Regions from separate parts of the Homo sapiens genome. Here all the other regions are linked to region 1. The links are contacts of gene promoters, found by promoter capture Hi-C in blood cells and fetal thymus (Javierre and others, 2016). All regions are on one chromosome and are shown on one strand. Each heading gives the region's core, a stretch centred on a gene start or on the middle of the fragment in contact. The rest is flanking DNA. Distances are from core to core; before and after follow the strand shown.

What was found. Contacts are between HindIII fragments. The CHiCAGO score rates a contact against its expected background, and 5 or more counts as called.
Region 2: a contact is called between the fragment with the promoter of WDFY1 here and the fragment with the promoter of DOCK10 in region 1, in 1 of 17 cell types (activated CD4 T cells). The highest score is 5.7, in activated CD4 T cells.
Region 3: a contact is called between a fragment that was not itself captured here and the fragment with the promoter of DOCK10 in region 1, in 2 of 17 cell types (fetal thymus and total B cells). The highest score is 5.3, in fetal thymus.
Region 4: a contact is called between a fragment that was not itself captured here and the fragment with the promoter of DOCK10 in region 1, in 4 of 17 cell types (activated CD4 T cells, naive CD8 T cells, non-activated CD4 T cells and 1 more). The highest score is 13.0, in activated CD4 T cells.
Region 5: a contact is called between a fragment that was not itself captured here and the fragment with the promoter of DOCK10 in region 1, in 1 of 17 cell types (total B cells). The highest score is 5.5, in total B cells.

What each region holds. Positions count from the first base shown.
Region 1 is chr2:225,040,704-225,045,167 of GRCh38, reverse strand. It overlaps DOCK10 (dedicator of cytokinesis 10), which reads left to right and starts at 2,700. Exons shown (of 56, transcript NM_014689.3): 1 at 2,700-2,916. The coding sequence starts at 2,794. RefSeq lists silencers at 2,304-2,673, 2,864-3,103 and an enhancer at 3,654-3,993. The HindIII fragment of the contact is 1,396 bases long and covers 2,600-3,995 here.
Region 2 is chr2:223,943,624-223,948,317 of GRCh38, reverse strand. It overlaps WDFY1 (WD repeat and FYVE domain containing 1), which reads left to right and starts at 2,983. Exons shown (of 12, transcript NM_020830.5): 1 at 2,983-3,170. The coding sequence starts at 3,034. LOC124907989 (a long non-coding RNA gene) reads right to left here. Exons shown (of 2, transcript XR_007088100.1): 1 at 3,911-4,694; 2 at 1-477. RefSeq lists a silencer at 3,232-3,411 and enhancers at 3,982-4,041, 4,052-4,171. The HindIII fragment of the contact is 5,306 bases long and covers 1-4,694 here.
Region 3 is chr2:226,773,687-226,778,609 of GRCh38, reverse strand. All of the region lies in intron 1 of IRS1 (insulin receptor substrate 1), which reads left to right. Among named protein-coding and RNA genes, the nearest start is that of IRS1, 24 kb to the left of the region's middle. The HindIII fragment of the contact is 4,590 bases long and covers 1,251-4,923 here.
Region 4 is chr2:226,836,993-226,841,674 of GRCh38, reverse strand. RHBDD1 (rhomboid domain containing 1) reads right to left here. Exons shown (of 9, transcript NM_001167608.3): 2 at 3,521-3,602; 3 at 2,048-2,266. Among named protein-coding and RNA genes, the nearest start is that of RHBDD1, 3.3 kb to the right of the region's middle. The HindIII fragment of the contact is 703 bases long and covers 2,221-2,923 here.
Region 5 is chr2:226,904,284-226,908,638 of GRCh38, reverse strand. RHBDD1 (rhomboid domain containing 1) reads right to left here. Exons shown (of 9, transcript NM_001167608.3): 6 at 1,758-1,846. Among named protein-coding and RNA genes, the nearest start is that of RHBDD1, 70 kb to the right of the region's middle. RefSeq lists a silencer at 3,643-3,792. The HindIII fragment of the contact is 2,206 bases long and covers 1,259-3,464 here.

The DNA of each region.
Region 1 (4,464 bases), core at 1,451-3,950:
TGAAGTCCATGTGCTAGTCACTTTTGAAGAAATTTACACTAATTTAAGTAACTCTCTCAGCAGCCCAGCCACACAACTACTATCTTGATTGCGTAGGTAAGAAACTGAGGCTTACGGAGTTGGGATTTGAACAAAGGTAATTGGACTTCAGAGCATGTATTTTAACCACTATTCTACAATATTACAAGCCCTTGAAGATTCTCTTATTAACTAGCTGTTCCAAGAAACTTAACATACTTCATGATATGTGCACAGATTTGCGTTTACCAAGCATCTGAGCCGAGTTTCTCCAGGGATCTGAGAGATGGGTGGCCAGCAGAGTCAAGGTCCCAAATCAGCAGACCTGAAGTTACATTTCTGTAGCAAAAAATAAGTGTATTTATGCTACAAGGGCAGGGGCAAGGGTCGACACTCAGCTCTCTCTCCTTGGTGCCCGAAGGAAGCTTAACTAAAACCTACATGATCATAAGGGCGGAGGAGAGTCTCTGAAGTATCATTATTGACATGCCCTGGGTGTGAGAGGTATGCTATCAACACTTAAACCTGCCTTCCTACTCGGTGTGACCCACGGAATTAACATCATACAGGGTATGGATTGGGCAAACAGGCATTTGTTCGTTAAACCCTCTCACACCAGTGCTCTGGGTGACCTCCTGAAGCTGGAAAAAGTACAATTAGGTGTATTAATTGTACGATTAACAAATTGTAAGTGACTTTCTGTTACTCGATATTGTTGGAGATTGGGTTGTGTGTGCTACTCAGTGTTTTGGATCAGCGAGTTGCCTTGTGCAGGGCACATTCTGATGTATTATCGATTACTATAGCCTTCCCTTTCAGCACACCTTTCTCTTCTCCTCTCTGACTTTCTCTGTGTCAGGCACACCCAGCTCTCTGACTGCACTAGCCCATCTGAGCCCTTTGTAAAGTCATCCATAAGCTGATATTTATTGAGTGCCTACGTGTGCCAGGCAGTGTTTTGAAACCAGAGACAAAGATTAGGTACCTCTTCTTGGGAAGCTCAAGTTAATTCAAATGTGCTTAATCGGTTCTCTCAGGGGAATATGCATTCAGAGACATCAAGTCTGGGTACACCTGGGAAAGGGTACGGTTGGAGGGAGCTGTTCCTACAGAGATCTTCATGTACCAACACAGAGGCAACCACCTACTTTGCTTACCCTGAAAGGTGGTGTTGCTCCCACACTGAGTACCAATATGAAAGCATACAATACAGGTACAGTTATTTGTTATGCAGGCTGTCTTGGAACTAGATGATGTTTCAAATGGCACTTCCCAAATCTGCCAGAGCCTCTTACCCTCTTACGCCTGTTATGATTTCTAGAATGTGCTGAAATGATCCCCAAACAGCATCTCTGGCTAATTGAATCCTGGCTAACAAAGAGCTGACTAAAGTGCATTTATCAATTGCTTAAGAATTCTTTATACCCAAATGTGACCTTGTGTTATAACTATCTATCATTGGCTTTAGAAAGTGGCAGGGTCATGGATCCATAAAAAGCTGTTAAGAAAAAACCAGACCACTTGGAAAGGCTGTCCCAGATCTCTCCAGACCAGTATCCAGGGGCCAGAACTTCTCTGCCCCCCATCCAGTCCAACACTGAATTGCAGAACCACCCTGGGTATGACCCAGGAAGAGACTTCTTAGAAGGCTTTCATCAGATACCTATCTAGAGGCAAAGTGCAGGCTAGATGGGTATGGGCAAGAGAAGAGCAGAGACAGCATAACTGTGAAATCCACCCCCGACCTGACCACCCTACATAGTAACCCTGCCAGTTGGTTCTTGCCTACTCATCCTAATGCCACCCAAAGTCTCTTACCCCCAGAACGCTGATTTATTGGTTTTGAGTTCGTGTTAGTAGCTTAAACTGTCTCCTTGATTTCTCTGTATTTGTTTATTTGTTCGCTTGGTTACTTGCTGTCTCCCACCCCTACCCCGAAAAAACCTATCAGCTCTACACAGCCTTAAAGTGTAGTTGCTAAGTTCCTCTCCGTATCCTCAGTTTCCAGAACAGTGTGAGCTGGCATATAGTAGGCGCTTAATAAATACTCATTGAAGGAGTGAATGAATGGGGAAGCTTATTCCAAGGCCCTGAACATGGACTTCTGGCAAGGGAGCCTTCCAAACGCTGGCTTGGGCGATGCTGCTGGGATCCCAGCCACCAGATCTTTAATAAGCCTCTGACCCCTTCCCGAGGGTGGAAGGGCGAACCGAGCTTGGCCCCCACCCACTAGCCGGACCCAGAAAATAGAAGTCTAAACGGCAAATGCATCCAGGGCTCCAACTCTCCCAGCAACCTCCAAATGAGGCTGACGGCCTTGGACAGGCGACGGCCTTGGACAGGCCCCGCCCGGAGCCCCTCGGCGGCCGCCCCCCGCCCTCCCCCGCAGCCTGCAGTTCCCCCGGGCGGCGTGGACAGCCCCGGCCGGCCAGCTGAGCCCGTGTGGGCGGCGCGGGCAGGAGCCGCCCCACACGCGTCCCGCGACGCCCGCTCCAGATGCGCCGCTGCAGGGCCCGGCCGCCAGCCGAGTTGGCCGCGCGCGCCCGGGGGAGCGCAGAGTTTGGAAAGTCTTCGAGAAGCTTCAGAGGAGGGAAGGGGGTGGGAAGAGTGGGGGTGCAAGAGAGAAAAACCCGCCTCTTGCGAGTTGAGCGAGGAAGAGGGGGGGGAAGGCTCCGAGTTCCGCTTCCTGAACGGCGGGTGGATAGAGAAGGTTGGCGCGGGGAAGACCGGCGGGAGGCGCGCCCCGGGCCCGCGGCGCGATTGGCGTGACCGGCGATGGCCGGTGAGCGGACCCGCAGGTTCACCCGGAGCCTGTTGAGACCTGGGCAGGCGGCCGAGCTCCGGCACAGCGCCGCGTCCGCCGCCGCGGTGGCAGTCAGCAGCCGGCAGCAGCAGCGGGTGAGTGCGGCGCGTCCTCCGCGCCTTCCCGCGCGCCCCAGGCGCCCGGGGGGAACGGAGCCCAGCTTCCCCAAAAGCTCGGCGGGCCCAGGTCCCCGCAGCTCACGGGTCCTCTCCTCCGCACTCCCTCCCCCGCCGCCTCTGCGGGCTCCCCCGGCGCCACCTCAGCGAGGCAGCGCCACCGACGCGTAAGGACCGGGGGCGCGTTTGTGCACGCGGGACGCTCAGAGGAGCAGCTGCGTGGGTAGCAGAAGCGCAGCGTGGGAGAGGATGTGCAGGGGCTTTAATGGGGCGCGAGGGGGCCGGAATGCACCGCCAGTCACACTGGTGCTAAGTGATACGAGTGCCAGAGACCCCGGGTGGGGTGGGGGGATCTACAGAACAGAACCCCTGAGTCCGGAGGTCTGCGCGTCCCTCTCACCCTCCAGTAAACAGACCAGTGCGCTGAGAGAGAGGGATGCAGTCCGTGGTCCTCGCCCTGGTTAGAGCTGGGGCCCCCCGACGTTAACTATCGCAGAAATAGATGTACTTGGAACAGCCCTCCCACCGCAGGGTAAAAACCCACAAACCACTTAATACTCCTCCAGAAAGGGCTGAGGAACACAGGCTGGAGGAGACGTGGGTCATTAGGTCTCCAGCGGTTTCTGATATTTTTCTAAGATGTTTCGCGGGGTTCTCCCACCAGCAATGCTTTACTGGTTACTTCCTTATTGAAACGGCTTCTAAGTGCTGGGTGATTTCCGCGGGAAGTCCCTGGGGCAGCAGCCAGCATCTGATGCTAGGATCCTATCCATACCAACCCAGATGTTCCTGCGTTGCAGTAGGTCCACACTGCCGGGGAGAGGTGGCAAGAGACAAATCAACTCTAGTGGAAACGGGAAGCGAGTGGGAACAACAGCCTCACAGCAAGACCGGGGCTCAGCAGCCGCGCTCTTGGCCTGCGTTTGGTGGACCGGAATCCGGGTTGTGTGTTTCATTTTCTTTTTTGCCAGAAAATATCATTAGGAACTAAACGGCTCTTTTTAAGAGTGTGAAAGTGTTACTCTTGCCAGTCACCAATGAGGAGGGCGCCAAAAGCTTCCCAGAGCCAGTTCCCACAGCCAGGACTATTCTCTAAAGCCAGAGGTCGGAAAGTTGAACAGAACGGAAGCAAATTGCCTGGCAGAGGGAAGAGGCATCGGGTGCCCAGGGGGTGTAGAGCGGGCGGGGGTGATTGGAGTGTGAAACGAATTGGTGGCCAGGGTGCCTTCTCTTGCACTTACACTAGCTGCAGTCCGCAGTTACCCAGAGGTGGTTCAACTGTTAGCTCACTCTGTGCCAGGGACAGCATGTGGTACTGCTATCAGCGTGCACATTTTCAGGACACCAAAGACAAACTGTTCAAAAGAACATTAGAAGAAAAGATTCAATTCGAGTAAAAGTAGAGATAAGAAAATCTCCACACAGTAGTAGAAAGTACTTTTTACTTTTGAATGATCATTCAGAATTGTGGTTTTGTCATTTTCTGCCATTCCCTTGACAAAAACTTTATTTTGCAATTGACTCATT
Region 2 (4,694 bases), core at 1,734-4,233, 1.1 Mb after region 1:
TCCAGCCTGGACGACAGAGTGAGACTTCGTCTCGAAAAATAAATGAATACAAATTTAAAAACTTGAAGGCAGATTAAACCAGCCTTCTGTTCGAAACTCTCCAATGGCTTCCTATCTCATTTGAAGTAAAAACCAAAGCCCTTATCAATGGTCTCTGGGCTCAACATGGTCTGTCTGGTGACCTGTCTGTGCTGTTTTTCTCTGAGCACTCCCTCACTCACTCTGCTCCAGCCTCACGGGGTGCCTGGCTGTCTCTACAAAACCCCTGGCATGTGCTCACCTCAATGCCTTAACACGTGCTCTTTTCTTTTCCAGAAAAGTATTTGGCCCACATTTCCACATGGCTTACTCCCTCCTCTCCTTCTTGGCTCAAAATGTAACTTTACAATGAGGCTTTTACTTGTCTCAGGTTGCATTCTCCAGCAGCAGATACGGTGATAGAGGTTGGCTCAGAGGGTGTTTATTAGGAATCAATGCCTGTGAAGGGAGGGGGAGGTACCAGGATTAGGCAGGAGAAGTCAGCTGCAGTACACGCCTTACAAAGCCTTGTCCAATCTAGGAGAGAGTTCTAGAGCAAGTGTTGCTCATCGGTCTGTCTTGATGGTCAGGCCTTTATCCTCCTATCTTGTTCAGTTACTGAATGTGGGCTTCCCTGTGAAGGGAACAACTGAGACCCAGTGGTTCTCAGCAGCTGGGGCAGTCCCTGAAGGAGCTGAAGGCTAGAGGCTCTCTGCTGACCACTGTTCTTCCCTGAAAGCAGATCTGTGCAGTGTATTCCTGAATCTATCACACCATCTATTTAAAATCGCAACATCCCCTAGAGTCCCTATCACCCTTCCCTGCTTTATTTTCTCCATAGCATTTAATAGCATTGAACATCTTCTAATATATTATATAATTTAGTTTACTATCTGTTTCCTTCACTGGGATGTAAGTTCTAACAGCAGAGGGATTTTTGTCTCTCTTGAGCACTGCTGCATTTAGAATGGCACCTGGCTCACAGCAGGCACTTGGGAGATGTTGGTTGATTAAACAAAGTTGTTCAGTAGCGTGTCTAGTCATTACACTGTACAGCCTCACAAAAACCATGTCTTATTAATCTCATCAGCAACAGCATATAGTAAGTGTGCGATATATGTCTGTTGAATATAGGAATAAATAAATTCATGAATGTTTGTTAATAACTTCATCATGAGAAAGTATTAGTACAATGGTGGCTCCTGCCCGTAATCCCAGCATTTTGGGAGGCTGAGGTGGGCAGATGATTTGAGGGCAGAAGTTTGAGACCAGCCTGGTCAACATGGTGAAACCCTGTCTCTAGTAAAAATACAAAATTAGCCAGGCATGGTGGTAGGTGCTTGTAATCCCAGCTACTCGGGAAGCTGAGACAGGTGAATCCCTTTAACCTGGGAGGCGGAGGTTGCCGTAAACCGAGATCGCACCACTGCACTCCAGCCTGGGTGACGGAGTGAGTTCGTCTCAAAAAACTAAAACAAAACAAAACAAAAACAAAAAGAAAGTTCTAGTAAATCACTGTACATAGAAGTACCATCTGATTCACATCCATAATTTAAAGTTTTTATTAGCTACCTTAAAAAAATAAGCAGGTCATATTAATTTTAATAGTATCTAACTCAATATATCCAAAATAGTATCATTTCAACATGTAATCATTGTAACAATTATTGATGAACTATATTACATCTTTTTTGTTTTGTGCTAAGTCTATAAAATCTTGTAGTATTTTGCACTTGTACTACATCTCAGTTTGGACAAGCCACATTTCAAGTGCTCTATAGTCATGTGGATAGTACGGTTCTAATGCAATTCTGCAATTCAGGTGTCAGAATAATATAGTGGGGCAGAAGTTTGGAGTCATTGACTTCCTGAGTCCAAATTTTGGCTCTTGAACTTACTGGTTGTCAATGACCTCTAGCCAAAAACCACCAGGAACAAATGGGGTTGATTGCTTGTTGGAGGGAGAAGACACACCATTGGGAATGGTGAGGTGTCTGGGTAAAGGGATGTTCGGACAGTTTTATTATAGGATTTGTGTTTGTGTTAGGTGACCTGGGAGAGCTTAAGGAAGAGAGGCTCTCCTGTGGACTGGATGTTGTCAGGAAATGCGTATAATTCTAAGGTTGCATATCTTAATAAATCTTATCTAAATGGAGGAAGACTAGATAGCGGTTAACATTATAATTAATAAAGAAATAAGAGTCACTCATATTAGCCAGGATAGGGGGATGTTTGGTAATTTCTGTGGCTTGTACATCGCTCATATTTTGGCCGTGTTTAGATGTGATTATGGAGTGGCCTCGTCTGATGTTTATGTTCCACAGGAAGCAAACACTTCCTAGCAACACCAAAGCTCAGCTGATAGTACCAGGCAGCTCCTGGAGATCAAGGGCTGCTTTTCTCCCTCTCATAGCTGTGCAACCTTAAGGTAGTGATCAAACTTCTCTGGTTGTTTTCTCATCTCTAAAATGGGAATACAAGAGCATCTATTTCATCTCTTAAAATTATCAGTATTAAATGAGATGCAAAGACACTGAGTTAATGCCTGGTATATGGTCACCACTCAGTGCTATCTATTGTAGTTCAAAGATTCTAAGATGCACTATATTTTTTCACATTTTAACATTTCTGAAAGTGTGTGCCTTTCAAACAATGGCTTCTTCAAATGGATGAAATGTAGTATTGTAATTTCTGAAATCTCTGGTTTGGGGGACAATTCCTTGTCCCCTCCAGGTGCTCAATTTATTCCTGGGTGAATGGCTTTACTTTTAAACCTTCCTTACTTTCCCCATTTCTCCGCAGGCGCCCCGTGGCATCCTCTCCCAGCCACAGACTTTCAGCTTGCGCGGCATCCCCAGGCAATACGGGCGGTGCGGCGGCAGCACTCGGGGGCTTACGGCGGCGCGGCGCCCAAGAGGCCCCAGCAGCCGAAGGGAAACCGGCGCGTCCCCCGCCCGCCCAGGCGTCAGCTGATGGGCTGCCTGCCGAGGAGGCCGCAGCAGTCGCCGCGCGAACATGGCGGCCGAAATCCACTCCAGGCCGCAGAGCAGCCGCCCGGTGCTGCTGAGCAAGATCGAGGGGCACCAGGACGCCGTCACGGCCGCGCTGCTCATCCCCAAGGAGGACGGCGTGATCACGGCCAGCGAGGACAGGTAGGGCCCGGGCGCAGCCGGGGCGGCCCGAACTCCGCGACGACGGGGTGTGGGGGCGGTGGGGTCCGCGGCCCCGGTCCTTCCTGCGTGAGGGGGCTCCCCCGGCAGCACGGCCCCACCCCCACTCTGCGCCCCTTAGCTCCGCCGGGTTCCCGGTTCCCTCCCGCCGGTCCTCCAGCCTCGACTTGCACCTTTCCAGCCTGGGACCCCGGTCTCGCCGCGCCCCTCCAGCCCGGATCCCCTGTCCCACCGCGCCCCTCCAGCCCGGGAACTCCGTCTCACCGCGCCGCCCAAGCCCGGGACCCTTGTTCCAACGTGTCTTTCCAGCCCAGGACCCCTGTTCCAGTGCGCCCTACCGCGCCCCTCCCAGCCCACCTCGCCCCTCCTGCTCAGGACCCCTGTTCCAATGCTCCCCAACGCGCCCCTCCAGTCCGGGACCCTTGTCCCACTGCGCCCGTCCATCCCGGGAGCTCCGTCCCACCGCGCCCCTCTAGCCCGGATCTTCTGTCCCACTGCGCCCCTCCAGCCCGGGAACTCTGTCCCACCGCGCCACTCAAGCCCGGGACCCCGGTTCCAGTGCGCCCCAACGCACCTCTCCAGCCCAGGACCTCTGTCTCACCGCGCCCCTCCAGCGCGGGAACTCTGTCTCACCGCGCTGCTCAAGCCGGGGACCCCTGTTCCAGTGCGCACCAACGCGCCCCTCCCAGCCCACCGCGCTCCTCCAACCAGGGAACCCCGACCTGCGGTGTCGCACTAGCCTGGGACCTTCGTCCCGGTCTCTCTCCCTGGCGGGGTTTAGCCTGGTACTCGGAAGGTGTTTCTTGGCCCTCCCGGGTCAGTTCCAAATCGTCTCCTCTGGAAGCGTGGAGGACCGGCGGCTGGTCACTGCGGACCCTGGTGCCCGGGGCTTGCTTCTTTGCGAGGAACTCCAGCCGCCTTCGCTCTCTTCCTCCCCCTGTACTCAGGGATTTCACGCCACGCCAGGCCTCTAGATCAGTTATTTTTGCCACGGCTGCTAGAATCACCTGAACTCTTATTTACTAAATAGGTTTTTGTGAAAGTGACTCATTTTTAAAAATATTTGGATGCATTTATTTTAAAAGGAAATCTTATTTATTAGGAAAACTAACATTACTCACCAGACAGAGTAAACTAATAACTAAAACATGTTAATTGGCATGCACACAGAGTCCTCTCTTGCACTGTGACATCTTGCATTGGACGCCCACCATGCTTTTGGGAAACACTGATTGGGTCCAGTTTTCTCATTTCTCCTAAGAGGAAGCCGAGGCTGGTGGAGGTGTAGCTTGCTGCTAAGTTACAGAGATACTGGTGAAGCCGGAAATGCAATCCAGAACTCCCACCAGCTCTGGGCCTGAGTGATTGGATTGGAACAGTATTTATGATTCGACTTTAAACTTTAGCGTCTTTCAAATCCTAAAGGTTTACAATGTCAGTAGCTTTCCGGTGGGAATTTGAAGGAAATGACTGATGTTTATTGAATGAAACTGTGTTTCCTTGATG
Region 3 (4,923 bases), core at 2,296-4,795, 1.7 Mb before region 1:
TAAGACTATTATGCAAAAGTGGTAATGTATATACTCTAACCTTTCTTTTCCAAAAGTTTTTTTTTTTTAAATTCTGTTAGAAAACTATTTAATGTTTGGGAGGAAAGACTATCTTGAAACTGCTCTTATGTAAAAAGCTTTTACTTTGGTATTGCTGTGTATTTTACAAGTAAAGATCTTCAGGCATATTCCTGTTAAATCCATACATCACAAGAAGAAATCTCACAATTTTAAGGTTGCTTTTTCTAGTGGATAACAGCTTTTATGGTGAGGAAATTCCTTTATCGCTAACTTAAATCCTTCATTTACATGTGAGAGAATTTCCCTCATTCTGATTTTAGTAGTGGTGACAAATAGCCTTTTTTAAAAATCATGAGGCTATAAATTATATTTTTATCAGAAGATTTAAATTATAGAAATATACTGTAAAGTACTATTAAGTTCTAAAAACAAATTTAAAATAAAACACGATGACCATATTTAAATATGCAGAAGAATAAATGGAAAAATCATAACCTTGGTACTGCAACTAATCAGTTTGCTAAAAGAGGAAATAAGACAGGAAATGAATTTTCTAAGAAATGCTTAGAAAAAATATTTATAAATAGAAAATATTTTATAATTGATGAGACAATTCTAATTAAACTGACTATGACTTTTCTGGGTTTCAAATACAACATATATTTATTTGCTGAAACTTAATAATAGGGTCAGTGGATTAGTCCATTTTCACACTGCTGATAAAGACAAACCCGAGGCTGGGCAATTTACATAAGAAAGAGGTTTAATTGGGCTTACAGTTCCACCTGGCTGGGGAGGCCTCACAATCATGGCGGAAGGTAAAGAGGAGCAAGTCACATCTTATGTGGATGGAAGCAGGCAAAAAGAGAGCTTGTGCAGAGAAACCCCCGTTTTTAAAACTATCAGATCACATGAGACTCATTCACTATCATGAGAGCAGCACAGGAAAGACCCGCCCCATGATTCAATCATCTCCCAAAGGGTCCCTCTCATAACACATGGGAATTATGGGAGCTACAAGATGAGATTTGGATGGGGACACAGAGCCAAGCCATATCAGCGAGTTTCCTCTAAAAGAAATTTTCCATCATCTAACTATTCTATGAAGAACAATAATTCATCAAATACAGTTTACAATTTGGGGTTCTATAAGTGGTAAGGAACTTTAAATAGGTTTGAAAATCCTTTGGAAAACAAAATACCTGAATATTTATATAGTCACCTAAGCTTGTTTTATCACTCATTTTTAACTCAATAGCATTTTTAAAATACACTTTTTTATTTCAGGACAGTTACAGATTTACAGAATTATCCCAAAGACAGTACAGAGATTTACTATGTACCCCATACCTAGTTTCTGCCTTTATTAACATCTTGCATTAGTATAATACATTTGTCACAATGAACTAATGTGACACATTATTGTTAACTAAAGTCCATACTTTATTCAGAGTTCCTCAGTTTTCCCCTAATGTCCTTGTTTTTCTGTTCTAGGGTCTCATCCAGGATACCACATGGCATTTAATCATTATATTATGTGTCTCCTTAGGCTGTATCAGTTTCCCAGATTTTTCTTGTTTTTTATGACCTTGACAGTTTTGAGGAATAGAATGTCCCTCATTTGGGATTTGTCTGATGTTTTTCTCATGATTAGACTGAGTAATGTGTTTTGGGGATGAAGACCACAAAGAGTCTCACTGTGTTGCCCAGGCTGGAGTGCAGTGATGTGATCTTGGCTCACTGCAGCCTCTGCCTCCTGGATTCCAGCGATTCTCCTACCTCAGCACCTGAGTAGTTGGGATTATGGGTGTGCGCCACCATGCCAGGCTAATTTTTGTATTTTTAGTAGAGACGGGGTTTCACCATGTTGGCCAGACTGGCCATGAACTCCTGACCTCAAGTGATCTGCCCACCTTGGCCTCCCAAAATGCTGGGATTGCAGGCATGAGCCACAGCACCCAACCAAGGATTACACTTTGTAACAGTGCCATTTCATCACCTTGATAGGTGCCATTTCATCACCTATCAAGTGTACCTGTTATCAACAGGATTTCTCAAGGTCGATGTTGACCTTGATAACTTGGCTGAAGGAGTGTTTGTCAGGTTTTTCTGCTATAAATTTAGCCTTTTCCCGCCTTTCCATATTGTGCTCTTTGGCAGAAAGTCACAATACACAACCCACAATTAAGGATTGGGCAGTTATCTACCCACCCCCACCCGAACCACCCCACACTCACACACGATTCTTCTGCACAGGAGATTTGCTTCTTATTTACTTAGTCAATTCTATTTATATTAGTATGGACTCATGGCTGCTTATTTTATACTTCAGGTCATAATCCAGTAACACTTTATTTTGTTGCTCAAATTGTTCCAGCTTTAGCCCTTTCAGTTGGCGCCTGTGTCCCTTTGACATACTCCCATCATTGTGGGTTCTTGCTTTTGTATTTTTTTTGAGCATTCCCTTACTTTTTGACACTCCAATATACTACAGGATCACCTTGTTTATTTCCTGCCCCAGTTCTAAAATCATCAGTTTCTCTAAGGAGCTGCTTCCTTTTATTGGAGAATGTACAGTCTGCCCTCTGTAACCTTGGGTTCTGCATTCATGGATTTCACCAAGCACAAATCAAAACTATTCAAGGAAAAAAAAAAGGATAGTTGCATCTTTACTAAACATATACAGACTTTTTCCTTGTCATTATTCCCTAAACAATACGGTATAACACTTATACATAGCAACTACATTGTATTATGTATCATAAGTAATCTAAAGATGATTTACAGTATACCGGAGGATGTGCATAGGTTATATGCAAACACTACACCATTTTATACAAAGGACTTGAGCATCCATGGATTTTGGTAGGCACAGGAATCCTGAAACCAATCCCCCACAGATACCTGATGGACAATTATATTGGAAACTAAGATCTGGGAACTAGCAGTGTTTGTTGCTACTGAGATGTCATTTCTTCTTTGCCTTCTCAGCTGACAGAGCATGGAAATGTATGTGTGTACTAACCCATACGTATACACATATCTATAAATATTTCTATATGTAACCATCTGTATCTGTACTAAGCCAAGCATGAGTTCACATTGCTGTCTCTAACTCCAATCCATTTCCACATGGACCATTCTCGCCTCCTTGTTTATCTGTCACCTCCCACCTCAACAGTGTGAAGTCCGGCTGTTACTATCCTTGATCCATTTAATTGTTTGTTCAATTTCACTGCATACATATACATAGCAGTTCAGGATTGTTAACTCTAGCCCCATGGGAAACAACTTTATCAACTAGAGTACAATGCTTCTGTCAAGTTTCTTTTGCCTTTAGTCTTATAGGTTCCCCTCATTTCCAGAGTTACTTCGGTCAGCACCTTATTCTCCTACCTCTTTTACTGAAGTCTTTTCATGAATTTATAACACATTTAGATTATTTTGTCACATTCTGCATTCCATCCTGGGATCAGTGACTTCCTAGGTGTATTTTTTTATTTGCATACATTAAAGTTTACTGTTTGTGCTATAAATTCTCTGGGTTTTGACAAATGCTTAATTACTTGTATTTACCATTACAGTATCATGCAGTATAGTATCAAGGCCCTAAAAAATGCTCTGTGCTTCACTTATTCAACCCTTCCTCTCTCTCCCCAACCCCTGGCAATCTCTGATCTGTTTATTGTCTCTACAGTTTTGCCTTTTCCAGAATGTCATAAAATTGGAATCATTATAGTATGTATTCTTATCAGGCTGGCTTCGTTTACTTAGCAATATGCAGTTAAGATTCATCCACATCTTTTGTGGCTTGATAGCTCATTTCTTTTTATTGCTGGTTAATACTCTTGTATGGATGAAACATAGTTTATTTACCTAGACCACCAACCTGTTATGAAATGTTTCTCTACATGTGTTTGAAGACATTTGTGAAGTCAGGTCTCAGCTTTCCTTTAATACTAAACATTTTTAGGTTTTACTCATCATTCTTATTTTTAAAATCTTCAATTAATTTTGTGGCTCTTTCCCAAACCTTGAATATTTTTTTTGTTTGCTTGTTTTTTTTACATCATTTTCCTCCCCCAAATTGTCCAACATTCTGTAGTACAGTGTTTCAAACCAACTCCACACTGGACATAGTTGGACATTTGCTTCCCGATTTCCCCATGTTCTCTCCATTTTAATTTGCCCCATGTTAGTGTTTTACTTTTTCAGAGACAGAACTTTATAGGTTATGTACCACCTTGGAACCACTGTGATCATCAGAGCCTTTTTAAGCCCTCTTCCTTGAAGGACAGTTATTTGCATTTTAAAAAACAGATTTATTTGAACCTATCTACCAGTAGTCTTTTTAAAAAAGTATTTTGTGATTTTGATTCAGTATAGACATTTACAACATTTTTATTCTTTCTTACTATAACGGACTCTCAAGTCTCGGGGAATCAAGTTAATGAAGTTCATTGAGGCTTGGCTGTTGTGCTTTCCGGACGTCCAGTGGGAATCTGGAACTGCCTGGACTGCCTGGTCTGTAGTGTAGGAACAGGGCTTTCTCTGTTGGACTACAGGGAATTATCTCTGGGATCATAAGGAGGGCCATTCTGCCATGCCTCACTGTCTATCACCTTTATGTGAAAAAGGGCAGCTACTATCCAATTAGCTAAAAGGGCTTGAGGATCATATTTATACAGTCTTTCAACACTCAACAAGTACTTTTGAACCTTTACTAGGTACAGCATGGAATCAGCCTTAAGACTACTCTCCTGGAGTGGTTACAGTTAACCAAGGCAAAACCCCTTCTTCGCCTTCCTGGGGGAGATGTGATGGGGAGGGGCTGCTGGGTAAAGGGGCAGGCGATGGTGTAGGAAGGAGTTCACAAAAGCACACATGTTTTGTTTAAGGACC
Region 4 (4,682 bases), core at 1,323-3,822, 1.8 Mb before region 1:
GTGGTACATATGAAATATTATGCAGCCACACAAAGGAATGAAATCATGTCCTTTGCAGGGACATGGATAAAGCTAGAAGCCATTATCCTCAGCAAACTGACATGGGAACAGAAAACCAAACACTGCATGTTCTCACTTATAACTGGGAGCTAAATGATGAGAACACATGGACACAGAGCAGGGAGCCACCACACACTGGGGCCTGTCAGGGAGGTGTGGTAGGCAGGGAGGAACAATAGCTAATGGATGTGGGGCTTAATACCTAGGTGACAGGATGATCTGTGCAGCAAACCACCATGGCACATGTTTACCTATGTAACAAACCTGCACATCCTACACACGTACCCTTGAACTTAAAAGCTGAAGAAAAAAAAATTAGCTGGGTGTGGTGGCACATGTCTGTAGTCCCAGCTACTAGGGAGGCTGAGGTGGGAGGATCAACTGAGCCCAGGAGGTCCCGGCTGCAGTGAGTCAAGATCACACCACTGCACTCCAATCTAGGTAACAGAGTGAGACTCTGTCTCAAAAAAAATAAATAAATGAATGAAAAATGAATACGCCTTGAAAGAAAAAAACAAGAAATTTCCTTCAATATGTTAGGATGAGGGCGACTACATGGGCAGTATGCACAAAATTCATTCCTAGGTTTGTTCAAATTTAGAATCACAACTGATTCATTGCAACACACATAATTGCAATATTGCTGGTATCAGTAATATATTTTTAAAAAACGTAGTGAAATTTTTTTCACAGTATTGCCCAAGAGACTTTTTACTTAAGAAAAAAAAAACCCAAATTATATGTAGTTGCCAAAACACACATACACACAAGTCCACACACACACCCCTATATATTATTTATAAAACTGAAGTCATTGTAAGTAACATTTATATTTATTTCATTCATTACTATCCTGATATTGTGACTTTGCATTAAAAATGCATAAGCAAGTTAACACCTGGAGAAACAGCTGTTGGTGTAATGACAACATTCCTAGAGCTAATGCCAGAAGATCTGGGGTCAAATATGGAGGCCATCATGTACTAGTATGTGGCCTTGGGCAAATCATACAACCAGTACTGTAGAGCTTCTGTTTCTTTATCCATAGATGGCAAAAAATTCCACTTACATTCTAGAATCACCATCAAGAATAAATGAAATAGGGTATTATGTTAAAGCGTGCAGTGCATCACCAAGGTTTTTCACTCTCCTTTCCTCTCCTTAATGAGATTTTCCTGCCCTTAGAGCTAGATTCTATTACTGTGTAATTATGAGGTGCATGTAACAATGTCCAAGAAACTAGATGGTAAATAACCCCAACATGCAAACCGGAATGCACACATTGTTAGTTGGCCATCACGTAGATCCCAAAGGTCTCTTGCCCATTATCTGTTGCTTCCCAGAAATTTGATAGATTTTCTTTCCTGAAACAGCCAAAGTTATCTATGGGCTTTGAAATATCACCATCATGATATTGCCACAAAGCAGCTGGTTGATTGAAAGTAACTCCCCCTCCCCCAAGCTCCAGCTGTCACCAGGAAACCCTCTTCAATGTGTGAAAAAGACAATGTAATATCACTAACTACCACTATTAGTAACAATCTAACAAATACTTAGCATTTGAAATTATTTTTCTTATGAAGGCTCATTATTAACTAAAAATTAACTCTAAAAAAACACTTTACTATATAAATATAGAGTAGTTGCTTCCATACAACAAAAAAATGATAGGGCTATAAACACAAGTAATACACTTCCTTTGACTCCTTGTTTCTTTTTCCCCGAGTCATTTGTAATCCTAAACAACAGTCAGTTAAAATGCCAAATAGCTTTTAATAGCGATACAGCTGTCACAACTTGGAGGGATTTTTTAAAAAGCTAATTCCTCAAAAAAGTGCACAGAATCCTACTTTGTAAAATACGGGTCAGGTGGGTTTTTTTTTTTCTCAATAATCACTCACTCCTCTGCATGAGAAGCCATCCATATGGTGACATGGCTGACAACCTTGGAAATTGTCTTCAGAACAAGTTTGTGAATCCCACTTACCAGAATTCTTAATACCATTACGTTTTAGGTATAGCTCATGCCCTGAGGATTTCTATTCCACCACAGAGTTTCACGTCCAGCTCCCCGGAATCCGAGGTTCCCTAGGCACGCCTCCTAATATCGCTGCCAAGGACCAAGAGCCTGTGCCCTTCAACCTCACTGTTCTTAAAGCTTCTCGGCTCCTGAGTTTTACAGGTAAGATTCTGTTTAAGAGGCTCCCTGTTGAAAAAAAATATGAGGTCCATTGCTTACGTGGCTATGACTGCAACATAAAAGGAAATCTACCTTTTAAAGAATCGCTTCCGTTTTTAATAGTTTTTTTAAAGAACATTTACATATACATGTACGTATCTAATTTTACATATATAGAAAATTTCCTTTTATACTTGGTCCCCACCCCCATATTCCAATATACTGACAAATAAAATTATGACCTAGTGTGAGTCAAGTATTTTCTGCACTCATACATTCATATACAATATAAACACACAGAAATACATGTAAGAGATTTTGTTATCCCTTATTAAAAAATGTAATGTAAAACTTTTCACTTTGCTATTAAGAATTCGTGTTTTAAAAAAATATTAGCAATTTCAGGGCTAACAGCATTTTCTCATCCTTTGATGCATACCTTCAACGAGGTCTCATTTCCTGTAACAGTGTCCCCTTCTCTAGCTGACTGTCCCCATTAACTAACAGAAGATACTTTATTACTCATCCCCTGACCTTTGGATGTTTACCTTGCTGTAAACATCCAAAACAATTTCTACAAGTTGCTCTGTTACAGTGATAAAACTGAAGATGGTGTTTTTTCACGTTAAAGTTTCAACTTTTTTCAAGTGTTTGTTTTTTCTCATTCACAATAATATGAAAGCTTTGACTCCATTTCAGCATTTTATGGTTAAAAAGAAAAGCAGTGCAGTTAGGTAATAAAATTACCTCATTTATAAAAATATTATAAAATGAATGGCATAAAGTTAGGTTTGAGACAACAAATACCTTTTTTCCCTTTGTCCGACACACAACATTTACTGAGCCTCTGTGCCTAAAACAAGGTGGACGTGTTTTATGCGTTATTTCATTTAATTCAATGGCCTGAAGTAGCACATCCTATGACTCCTACTTTACAGAAATTCAAGTGGGGAGGATGTTAATTTGTCTAATGTACACAATCACTAAGTAGCAGAGGCAAGATTCAGAGCAGGGCTTGTCTGACCTAAAACCACAGATAGCGATCTGCCTCTCCGATGAGGAGAACAAAAAAAAATATTTAATGCCTTCGAAAAATAAACATTTCATGATGGGGCAGTGCCAATTTGGTGGCAGAGCTAACGAAATTATTTCCAGAATAATCCATTCAAAGTGACTTATGTTTATCTGAAAACTCTCTCAATATCCAGGAGCCATGGTATAGCCTTGGGAGCAGCGTGCTCTCATCAAAACGACATGTGTAGGCCACGGTTTGGCACTGACCTTCTCAACATTGCAGTGAATGTAGCCTTTAGAGCAGCTGCTTTAAATCCTGAATATTTCTTTCTCCCCCTACAATGGACCCCTGAAAGAGATAAAGTTGTAAGAAAATACTGCATCTAAAAAACACAGCAGGTTGAGGGCACTCCTGTGATCCTTCCTGAAAATGGAGGTATCTAGAGTAGACATGAGATCTTTGCTACCGTGGAGTTGTACGACATATGGGAAACAAAGATAAGGACAGAAACATATTCAGCCTTGGCTTTCGCTTGCAAGTCACTATGTTACAATAATTCTCAACTCTAAAACTAGTGCTTACCTCTGGTCTTTACCAAATTCTGGGTCAAAGAAGGTATAACTAAACTGAAGACGAGGCAGGTGGATTACCTGAGGTCAGGAGTTCGGGACCAGCTTGGCAAACGTGGTGAAACCGTCTCTACTAAAAATACAAAAATTAGCTGGGCGTGGTGGCAGACGCCTGTAATCCCAGCTACCTGGGAAGCTGAGGCAGGAGAATCGTTTGAACCCTGGAGGCAGCGGTTACAGTGATCCAAGATTGCACCATTGCACTCCAGCCTGGGTGGCAGAAAGAGACTGTCTCCAAACAAAGCTGAAGAGATCAGAAGGCCAAAGAATTAAAAACTACTCTTCAACATAAATACTAATGCTATTCTTAAAAATCCTACAACCACAATAGCATTAGTATGCACTGCTTTAACTTTTAACTGAATATCCTGCATCCAACAACCTTGACTACACAGAATTGAGAATCCCGAGGTAAACAAAATACCCTCTAAGCAGCAGTCCCAATATCCATGCGCTACAGCTCATATCTACCCCGCTGAAGAATCCTTCCAGCACAAACTATGTACTTATTTTATGCAGTTCTAATAAGTTACTTAATAACATCTTTGAGGGTTTTCTATGTGTTTTGTGTTAAACATTTTTCTTGCATCTTCATATTCCAGCCCTGTGAGGTAACATGTCCAAGTTTTTCCATCTAGGAATTACTTCAATTCAAATTCCATTATATGTGATTCCACAATGGGTGTTATCACTACGCCATTAATTCTCAAACTTTAGCGTCCAGGTGCATTGGTATCAACTGGAAGGCTTGTTAAAATATATTTCTGATTCAGTAAGTTTGGGATAAGACCCCAAAATG
Region 5 (4,355 bases), core at 1,112-3,611, 1.9 Mb before region 1:
CCCTACAGGGAAAAGAATGTGTGTGTGTGTGTGTGTGTGTGTGTGTGTGTGTGTGTAGTGGAAAATGAAACCCTAATTTACACTCACTGAAGTTCCTTAGTCTTTGCCTGCCAAAGTACCAAGCCTCGGCTTTGATGTCTCTGTACAAGCAGAGACACTCTGGCTAAATGGAGAACCTTCCTCAAAGAAGGTGTTAGGAGAGCCATCCTCCCTACCCTTCCTAGGGGACTTCACTCTTTCTTGTCCCTACAGAAGGCAGTAGGACTGTCTACTCAGTCAATTTGGCACGGCTGAATGAAATGAGAGAGGGAGGGCCAAGGGCCACACCCTCAGGGTGACCCTCCTCTTCCAGGAGGCATCAGACAGCAGCTTCCACATGCTGGGTCGTTTTCCATGGGGTTCCTGTGTCCTTCAATTCTCAGCTCACAGAAAAAAGGCCGAGTTCGCAGGCTATTTGCAAATTGCACTGAGTGTTCTAATTTTCCTATTTAATTTGCTATTGTATTTATTACTTTGAAAATGGAGTGGTGTAGAAATAAGTCACCACTTATTTTTTAAGGCTTTTAAAACTAAGAGTTTAAATATTATAATTAGGGGAAAATCCTCTTTAAAAATTAAACAAAGCACTTGCTTAAATTTCATAACATGTCTGCAAAAAGCTTTACTAACCGCTTCATCATGAGACACAGAAAAAAGAAACAAGACATTAAACTCCCGAGAATCATCTCTTTTATCAGTACTAATGAGTATTAAATTGTATTGAAAATACAATAAAACTGGACATTTTCAATAAATGAAGCTCCCACTGCCTCCTCTAAGTACGTACAGTGGAAACACATTAATAAGCAAACGTGGGAAAATGAGGATCTGCTTAAATGCAACACAGCCTGTAAAAATCAACCAAAAGTGAACACGACCTGCTAATAAAGGTGCCAGTGCAGTGCCTGGAAAGCTTTCTACTATCATGAATATTATATGGTTCTCAAGAATACCAGTCATCAGCACAAACTGTGAAACAAATTATTTATGGTTCAAGAAAAGGTAAAATAGTCTCAGAAGACTTCCCATGAATAAAAGATGAAATAGTGGAACTCAGTCTATAAAACAAGTGTTTGCAAACCAGTTTTCTTACAAGTCAAAATGAGAATCGCATTGAAAATTAAGAGGTCTAAAAAATACAAGTATTTCTAAATGAAATATTTTCATTGAGTATCAATTTGAAGGGAAAAACAAAATTAAAAAAAGCAGGAGCTAAGCTTCAAGCAATAACAGACTTGGTTTCGCCATGCATGAATATATGGCTCATCCACCAAGGACCCGGTCATCAGTCTGAATTCTTTAAAATACTGGCCATGCACTTCAGTCCAGGCTTTGTTTTCTTTTTCACCTTTGCCTTGCACGTATATTAATTCATGGACTATTATAGAAGAATGCATTATTTTAAAGGCACTTTAGTTCTCTGCATTCTTTAGGAAATCGTGGTTTTCTGCGGGTAGCATTAAGGTTGAGGGTATAAATATATACTGATATTTGTCCCCTAAGAAAGTATCAGATTCGAAATTTAAGTTTGCAGCCTCTTTTGTGGAGCAATGTAAGGAACTGCACTGGTTGTTTTACCTTTCGGTTTAAAAAGAAAAACAGGCATATTAGGGAATTCTTGAGCTGAACCACAGGGAAACTTGGGGTTGCTTCTGTTCACATTAAAATTAACATGAACTTCCAAGCTGTTGTCATGCCAAAGGTGTTTTATTCTGTACCTGCACATGCTTCCATGATTTTCTTCAGAGGCCCTTGAGTGTACATTAGTCCAACAAGAATCCCAGCCAGATGCCCAGCGAAGGAAGTCCTAGGAGGGAAGGAGACCCTTTGTGAGTGTTTGTTCTGCTGCTGATTAGAGACATTCTGTCTTCTCATTAGCCCAGTGCATGTCAAATAGTCACAGTCTGCAGGCTTTGTTCCACATCAAGTCTTTTATGCTAAGCAGCATTTAACTCAGTCCAAAGAACAACATCTCCTACCTTAAAAAAAAGTACAATGAATAACAACCACCACATGTTTAAAACGCAACACCCCTCCTTAACCAGGGGAAGTGGGTTGTCTCCTCCAGAGCAGTGGAAGCATTTGGTCAAGACAAGTCATTACATCGCTTTCCGTTTTTTTTCTGTACCTCTTATCACAAAACATAAATAAAATCAGTTTTCTCTGTTTGGCATTAAATCTGGAATTATCCAGCCATTGTGAGGGATGATGTCTATCTGTGTTATGGCAGGGCAGACTGCTGCAGTTTTCTACACCATGGATGAGTGAAGCAGAGAGCAAGTGAAACTCAGCAAAAGGAACTGAGATGCCCACCTGCATCCACCAAAGTTGTCTTCATGTGTATGTTTCAGTCACTCAGAACAAAGAAACATACATTTAAATTTCAAACTTGAAAGATGAGTTAGGGCATGAAAGTGTTTGCGTTAGGGCATGACAGTGGTTTAACTCTTCTTAAACTGGCATCTAAAACCAGCAATTACTTGTAAGATTTATTTTCAGAGGTCTACTTTGACCCAAGTGGCAACACTCTTTGTGGAGTTCCCTGGCTGAATGACCTCCCAACCAGCCTGAGTTTAAGAAATTACTGGCGATTCTCAAAAACCTCTGCTGTTACCACAAAGGGGGGGGTCCTACACAACGAGTTGTTCTTTAAGCACTTGACCTCAATTTCCAGCTGCCCGCCACCCTCTAGACACCCCCGCGCACACATGCACACATCCACTAGCACCTTAAACTAGACTTTTCTGGGGTGCCACTCCCACTTCCCGTTTGTAATGCCTCTCATACCCCTCCCAGCCTTCCCATTCCTACTGCCACAACCATGCTTACTGCCATCTGGACTATTTGGAAATGCCCAGTGTTGGGCACAGAGTGAACCCCAGATGAATGTGTGTTGAATGAATAAAATAAATGAAAGAAAATCATCCAGCTGGTCTCCCTGCAAGCCAGCTCTTGCTCTCCAGTGCATCCCACACACGGCCATCAGTTATCCTCCTGAGGCAGAAGGCAAGTGGTGTCATTGCCATCCTCTGAAATCCACTGGTTCTCACAGAATACTCCGGTGTGTGTTTAAGCCCTTCCAACACTTGGCCTTGCCCATCTCTGCAAAGTCAGAGGGTGGAGACCTCATCGTCTACTACCTCCATTCCCACATGCCCCACTGTCACATCCCCCAAGCACTCTCTGACCATAGGCTAAGCCAAACAGCACCTCTGTCAAAAAATGCCACCCCAGTTGAAGAGCCGTTCTTTCCTTCTCCTGCCTCCCCTCAGAGCTGAGGCTCCTACCTTATTCTGGCACGAAGCCAGTCTGCTGGTGGCACAGTACTTACACGTCTGCCTGCCTGTCCGTCTCTCTCTGTCACACACAAACTCCCTGAGGGCAGCAATGGTGTCTCATTCATACATTATACAAAATTAGAAGCTTAAAAAAAAAAAAAAGCCAAGCAAATGAACGCATTCCCACAGCCTGGAATAGTGACCTCTCATTCCAGAAGGTGGGAAACTGAAAGTTATGAAAGAGCCTGATGGAGACTCCAAGAACATAGCCTTTATGTGGCTTTTACATATGTATTCCAAACACCCAGGACAGGGCCAGGCACATGAGAGGCACTCAAGGATATGTTGAGTAAATGGCTCAAGTGTGCCAGGACCGTTTCACCAAGACCAACAGGAGGTAAGTTAAAACCACTAGATGTTCAGCTCAGGGTGCTTGCTGAGCCACGGCAATCACAGAGCTAAGAATCCGCCATTTGGTAACCTACACGAGACTCAGAGTCAAAACCAATACATTTCGCCTACTATGGCAGCAGCCTAGGGGAGATTCCCTGAAACACCACAAGCAAGATGGTTCTGAGTAATTTTCTTTGTCTCCAAGCTATGAAAAGACTCGCTGGCTCTCAGGAAAAGAACATGCAATGAGGAACACTTGAAAGAAAGAGACAAACAGGAGCCTTGTAAAGAGAACAGCATTGATGCTTGTTCCCATTAGCTGACTAAATGACACTATTGCCCAGACAAGCCCTCACATACATGCACACGTGCTAAAAGTCATGGCACATGCATGCGCGTGCACACACACACAGACACGCACACACACCACATACACGATCATCCCCTCAGGAGAGCATTATTTTCATCAGATATATCTACTGAAACAGGAGTTCCCTGACCCCCCTCCCCCCCCGCTTGCAGGATGTGCCACAGTGGTGTAACTTGTCTGTTTGGTGACCGTGCATGCTTAAACCCCTTACGGGAAGGGGAGCACACAGATGGGCAGGTGCAGGAGCTGGGATGAGTGCCCCTAGGCTTCAGCCT